Linked DNA regions of Homo sapiens: region 2 is linked to region 1. Evidence: promoter capture Hi-C in human tissues and cell types (Jung and others, 2019). All regions are on one chromosome and are shown on one strand. The core of a region is centred on a gene start or on the middle of the fragment in contact, and the rest is flanking DNA. Distances in the headings are between cores, read along the strand shown.

Evidence for each region. The method cuts DNA at HindIII sites, captures the fragments that hold promoters and counts their contacts. A contact is called where the count stands out against the background at its distance.
Region 2: a fragment that was not itself captured here is called in contact with the fragment with the promoter of ZAP70 in region 1 in 1 of the 25 tissues and cell types used here (dorsolateral prefrontal cortex).

Annotation. Positions count from the first base shown.
Region 1 is chr2:97,712,217-97,715,624 of GRCh38, forward strand. ZAP70 (zeta chain of T cell receptor associated protein kinase 70) reads left to right here and starts at 1,360. Exons shown (of 14, transcript NM_001079.4): 1 at 1,360-1,458; 2 at 1,700-1,778. RefSeq lists enhancers at 1,168-2,141, 3,373-3,408. The HindIII fragment of the contact is 22,881 bases long and covers 1-3,408 here.
Region 2 is chr2:99,105,847-99,109,168 of GRCh38, forward strand. It overlaps TSGA10 (testis specific 10), which reads right to left. Exons shown (of 21, transcript NM_025244.4): 7 at 2,987-3,145. Among named protein-coding and RNA genes, the nearest start is that of C2orf15, 34 kb to the right of the region's middle. The HindIII fragment of the contact is 7,771 bases long and covers 1-3,322 here.

The sequences.
Region 1 (3,408 bases), core at 110-2,609:
TGATAGACACGGGGCTTTGGGCGTTATCAACCGGACACAAACGCCGGGGCTCTGGGTGCTATTAACCGGGCGAATTCCTGGGAACTGCGGATATAGCTTGCCACAGTATCTTATCAGTTAATTGCATTCTTGGATGTGCTGGGAGTCAGCTTGCACAAATTAAGTCCTTGAGGAAGCGGGGTGGGTAAGGGGCTGCAAATGAAAGAGCCAAGATGGAGTCTGTCTGGCTCTCTTAGCTAAGGGAGAGTCAATTCAGGTTAAAACAAGGTAGGGTATCACAAGCCCACTTAACAAGGGCAGCAGGACCCCAAGAAGAAAAGCTTTAGGAGTCTCCACAGTGGGCCCAGGGCAGTTCCACACAGGTCTCTGAGGCCCCACAGACAGGAGAGCTGTGACGACTCCCTTAGTGCCCAAGAAAGCAAGGAGGTGGTGGGCAAGGGGCTCCCAGAGGCCTTGGGGCACTAGAGGGGAGATGGAGCCGAGGGAGTGGCTCTGCAGGCCCCTCTCTGAGAGAGTGCATGAGGTGTGGCCCCAGGCCCAAGGGTAGGGGGTGCACAGGGTGAGGGAAGGGAGGAGAGGAAGAGGAGGAGGAGGTGGTGGCCACAGCGGGATGGCACTCAGCCAGGTTCAGCTTCGTGGGAAAGGTCCCAGGTGGGCCGGGCTAGCACTGGGGATGCCCTGGCTCTGTGTCTCGGTTGGGTGGCTGACTCCTCCTGGAACGCATCCCTGACATCCTCCAGGCTGGCTTGGGGATACTCTGGGGACACACAGTGCCCAGGCTTCCGGCCTCCCAGCCCTGGCTCCCTGTGGACTCAGCTGCCCCCAACAAGCCTGCGAGCCACTGGAGAGCAAGGGCAGGCTGTCCTTGCCATCCAGATGCCTGGCACAGAAGGGGTTCTCACCTTCGGGGTATGGGCTGACTCAGTGGGTTTCTCCTCCCTCCAGCTCTAACCTGCCTGTGGAATAAACAAATCACTCCTCTGGGTTGTCTAGCTGGTGCAGGCCCCAGGGCGACGCCCCTTTGAGGGGAAAATGGGGGCATTCCAGTTTCCATGAGCCCTGGGACTCCCCTCCTTCCCACCACTGCTGCCTACCCTCCGGTTCCAGGTATGCAGGCTTCCTCCCTTCTGACGGTTCCTGCTGCTGGAGTCGTCCTTCCTGAAACCCTGCCTTTGCTTAGCCTCATTCCCATCTCTCAGTCCCATCCTGCAGCTGGGCAGGCAGTGCTGGGCCCCGGAAATGCCCTCTGCCTCCCTGGAGCACGTGGCCTGTGATTTTCCTTGAGCACAGCACTTTGTGACTTTGATGTAAACATCAAACACAGCCCCCTTTCCTGTCTTCGCATCCAGGAAATAGGTTAGTTTCAGACAAGCCTGCTTGCCGGAGCTCAGCAGACACCAGGCCTTCCGGGCAGGCCTGGCCCACCGTGGGCCTCAGAGCTGCTGCTGGGGCATTCAGGTAAGCGGCTGTCCTCGGGCCTTCTGCCTGTGTCCTGCCACCAGGGCCACCCCAGGGGGCTCTGGGAGACCTGGCAGAGGATGAACCCCCCCCATCCATGAGTGAGAAACCCTGGCGGGGTGTGACATCCTCCCCCGGGGTGTGTGCGGAGAGTGTGAGCGGCAGGGCCTCCCTCTCAGGCTGGGGGCTTGGGCTGCAGGGAAATCCAAACCGGCTTTGTAAGCCCCGATTCCTCACCCAGAACCGGCTCTCCATTGGCATTGGGACCAGAGACCCCGCAAGTGGCCTGTTTGCCTGGACATCCACCTGTACGTCCCCAGGTAAGTGGTGCCTGGGTGGAGTGGCACCTGGCCACCGTCTCCATGGTGGGCTGTGTCTGGAGGAGGAAGACAGAATATTAACTGGGAGTCAGGAGGTTGCTGGGAGGACCAGGAGAGCTGGAGGACTGGGCTGGGTGGTGACTGGCTGGAGATGGAGGCAGACGGGGCTTGTGGCCACGCTGAGGGAAGCAGCTCCCCCTCCAGAGGCTTGGCCGAGCGGGGCTGTTCAGGGGACACGGTGAGGCCTGCTCAGTCCCTGGGCTCCTGCTGGGCCCTGTTTGGCTGCATCCTTGGCTCTCGGAGGCAGAGAAACCTCCAGAGAAAGCGCATGTGCACTCTGTGAAGATGAGGGGGCTGCTCACCAGGGCCGTGAGCTCCATCAGCAGAATGCTGTGATTCCTGTGAGGAGTCCAGGGCAGGCTTGAGCCACTTGTAGGCGAGCTCAGGTTAGAGGAAGACCTGGAGAGAGAAAGAGCAAAACACCGAGTTCTCCTCAACTGCTGTGTGTTCTCGGCAAGTTGCTTGGCCTCTCTGACCTCAGTTTGTGCATCTGTTAAATGCACATGCAGATATGGGCACCTGGCAGGCGCCTGGTTCCTGACTGTTGGCGAGAGGCTGGGAAATGTGTCCCAGGTAGGAAGCATCCCCGACAGGAAGGAACAGGAGTTCATGAGGTGAGCAGCTCGAGATGATTCATTACTCTCGTCTTGGTTGGAACAGTAGGCAGACAGGAGGTGTTTAATAATGCCTTGCTGAGAGATCAGGGTCAGGGACTCCTAAGGTGCCACCTGTGAAGCTGCCTCCTGCTGAATCCAGAGCTTCCTTTTCCTCTTCACACCTGCCCTCCATCCTCAGCCCCACTGCCCTGGCAGTGTTGCGGGGGTGGTGTTGATGTGCACACTCTGGAGCCTGGGGGCCTGGCTTCACATTCTGGCTCTGCCACTCACCAGCTGTGTGACTGGACCAGTCACCGCATCTCTCTGTGCTTCCCTCCCAGGGCTCTCGGGAGGATAAAGAGAGTGACTGTATCCACACTGCCCGGCACATACAGGTGCTGCAGAAAGGTCTCACTAAAACCCTCATTATCCTCACTAGCTCTGGGTGGCCTCGGGCTCTGGACTCCACAGTTCCTGTATGCTCTCCGGGGCTGCAGCACCCAGACCACCCCGTGCTGACCACTCCCTGCCCCACCCCAAGGTACAGGGTTAAGGCAGCCATTCTCATCAGAGCCAATTTTACCTCCTCCCGTCTCCCTGGGACAGTTGATAGTGCCTGGAGACAGTTTGGGTTGTGACCCAGCGGGTGTTACTGGCATCCAGCATGTCCAGGACAGGAATCCTGTGAACAGCCTACAAGGCCCAGGACAGTCCCACCCTGTTCCATTGTCTCTATCAGCCCCTATCCTCCTGACTCACACCGCCTTTTCCCATCTCCCTTTTACAGTCACAGAGCCTGAGGCCCAGAGAGGGACCGCTGCTTGCTGAGGTCACACAGGCAGTGGAGGCCGGAGTTGGGGGCCTCACTGGAGGGGCGGTGGAAGGGCATTGTTCAATCAACAGACACTTGGAGAGTGTGCTGGGTTGGGGAATCTGACCCTGACCCCGCACCAGCCCAGCTCTCCAGGGTCTCC
Region 2 (3,322 bases), core at 659-3,158, 1.4 Mb after region 1:
ACAAATAAATGAAAATGAATATATTTAAATAGAAGTTCATGTTACAACATCTTTGCCAAAAGTCTAAAATAAAATTAATTTGGAGGAAGTCATTGCAACAGAGAATGTTTTGCTAAGAAATATATTTGGTATACTCCATTTATTCATTTTGTAGTGTAAATTTAAATTCAGCACAATTTAGACAGACTACCGGTTTAATGAATATTATCATAGTGTTTCAGTCTTCCTAAATATAAATGCATATGCCATTCCTATGTCTTGGCTACTTCTGCCCTGACAGAAAGGCCCACCAATCCTTACTGATAACCCAACAGAGTCTCTGCACGTCTGTTCAACCATCCTTGGGTCCCAAATCTATTCCAAACCTGCAGATTATTTAATATCACAGTTCGCTGCACAGGTCTCTTTTCCTCTTGATTTTGATCACTGTCTATTCAGATAGTCTCCAAGCCCCAAAGGAAAATATATAACTTCCCAATTTCCACAGCTAAGCCTTCACCAGAACCCCAAACCTCATCTCCTAAAGTGTCTTCTAAGATCTCCCTGACTCAATTATAATTATTTCTTCTCATCTTGAATAGTACCCTCTCCACTGGCACTTTCTCCCCTGCCTTCAGTCATGTACAGTGCTCCCTTATCTTGAAAACCTGTCACTTGATCCTGCTGACCAATTTACCATCCTATGTCTCTTCTTCCTGCGACACATTAAAAAAAAAAAGTCCCATGGTCTATAACTATTGCCAATGGTTCCTTACCATCCATTCTATCACCCCAGAACAACCTGGCTCCCACCCTCCCACCTTCTGTGGAATTTCAACTAAAGACCTAACCAAATATAATGGTCTTTTCTCAGTTCCTGTTCTCCTTGATATTTCAGTGGTCTGTTGCTGCTCACAACATCCTTCTTCTTGAGATTCCTTCCTCCCTTTTAACATTGTTCCTCCCTAGCTGTCTGTCATCTTTGTCTCTTTCAAAGGTTCCCTTCTGCATCTTGAATATTATAACTTAACGTTTCTGCTCCTCTATGTACAGTTTTCTCATTCAGAGACTTCATCCACTCTGAAGGCTCGAAGCTCACCTCTAAGCAGATGACTTCCAAAGCTAACTATTTAACTCTTGCCTCTCTCTACTCCAGTCCCACATTTCTTACAGTCTGATGGCAATTACGACCTGAGTGTGCTATCATTATCTTACTCTGTCTAAAAACAAACTCACATCTTTTTCCTCAAACCACCAATGACTCTCCTATTTTTTATTTTATTACCACATTGCTGAGTCATTCAAGACAGAATTTTAGTCACTGTCATGCAACCCTCCTTCTTCCTAAAAGCAAATCATGTCAAATCTTCCTTCACAGGGTCTTTTGCATCTGTCCCTATATTTATCTCCATTGAAACACCCTTGCTTAGTCCCTTAATGCCTTATATGTGCACTAGTGTAACAGCCTTCTAAAGAGGAGTCCATGGTCTCTCCCTCCATCAATTCTCTCAAAGGAGAAATTGTTAAATAAGAAGACAGTATAGAAAGATTATGTGAGAAATAAAAATTTGCCATAAGGTTAAAATTGTAAAATTGTAAAAATGATACTTTGTTCATATTTTGCCTGCCTTTAAAAAAAAAAGATTGTTTGTTGCTTATGAAGCAAAATATAAACCCCATATAAGGCCCATTGAACAGCCTGTACCATTTAGTCCAGAAGTCAGCAAGCTATATATAACTCACAGGCCACATCTAGCCTGCCTCCTGTAGGTCTGTAAGTGGAGAAATATTTTTGCATTTTTAAATGGTTGGGGAAAATATCAAAAGAGTATTTTAAAACAAGTAAAAATGATGTGAAATTCAAATTTCAGTATCCATAAAGTTTTACTGTAATACAGCCAAAGTTATTCATTTATGTATTGTCCAAAGCTGCTTTCACCCTACAACAATAGGGCTGATTAGTTACAACAGAGACCACATGGCTTGCAAAGCAGAAGATATTTTTTGTCTGGGCCTTACAGAAAAAGTATATTGATTCCTGCTCTAGTGCAATCTTACCTTTCAAGTCTTAGCTCTCTCCCTTCTCCACTGACACATACCCTCTATTCTAGTCTTAAACCAATTTATTTATCTGCTGATTTTCCTACCTTTATCCTTTGCCTCATACCATTCCTTTAGTTTGGATTGTTCCTTCTAGCCCCTTTCAGGGTAATAGAAACTCCATTCATTTTTCAGGGCTCACACTTTGTATCTTTTAATAAAGATTTCCTTGATCACCATATCTAAAAATGCCCACTTCTTTTGTTTCTTATAATATCTTCTAGACCACTTAATAAAAATCAATAAATACAATATACTTTATCTCCCTAACTAGACTGTAAATTTATAGGAAAACATGGTCAGCATCTTATCATTTTTCTATCCCTTAGAGTAGTGAGCCTAGAACCCTGTGTATAGTAGCTATAATTTGTTAAAAAATTGTGATACTTTTAAAAGAAGTTATATGGGTGATTTATAGGATTTAATACTTGTTGGGTTAAAGAAGGTATTTGATTAATAAAAGCTATGCAATTCTAAGCTAGAAAGCAGAGATAAACTACATACTTCTTTTATTCTCTAAAATTAAGCAAATTATATAAAAGTTCCTAAAGTGATGTGATAAGGTGTGGCAAGTTCAAGGTAAAAAGGTCAGGATTTGATCTTTTTACCTTGAACTCATAACAACTTATCATTTAACGGTTTCTTCATATCTTATTCCAAAAATAAGACTATTTTTATACATGTGTATGATTTTTGGCTATGGGGATAACATACGTGTGTACTCACATACCTACTGTATTGGAAATGTACTACATTTCATTAAGAATATCTTAAAAACATATGTAATCCCCAAATGTTAGATTAACTTGATTTGCAGGTTTAAGCAGTCTCATAAAACTCAAAGAAGAATTACATAACTCTAGAACTCAATGTTATTACTTATATAATTTGTTTTTTGTAAGTTTACCTGTTCATAAAGAAGGAAGATCTTGTCTCTCTCAGATTTAAGAACCTTGACATTACCCTGAATTTCTGCCAAATGGCGCTCATATTTTTCCAGCATGCATTTAAGTTCTTCACGATCTCTTGTTGTTGTCTTCAAAAGTTCTACATCACAGTTTGCACCCTATAATTATATAAGGAATTTGAAATCTTCTTTGATATATAGTACTGATAGAAAGGTGCTACTGATGGTAGTGCCCAATTTCTATTTAAGAAAATAAGACTATATAATGAAAGGAAATTATAAAAAATAAGTTTAAAAACCACATCTTTTTAAAACAGCTTCATTCCAAATTATTCC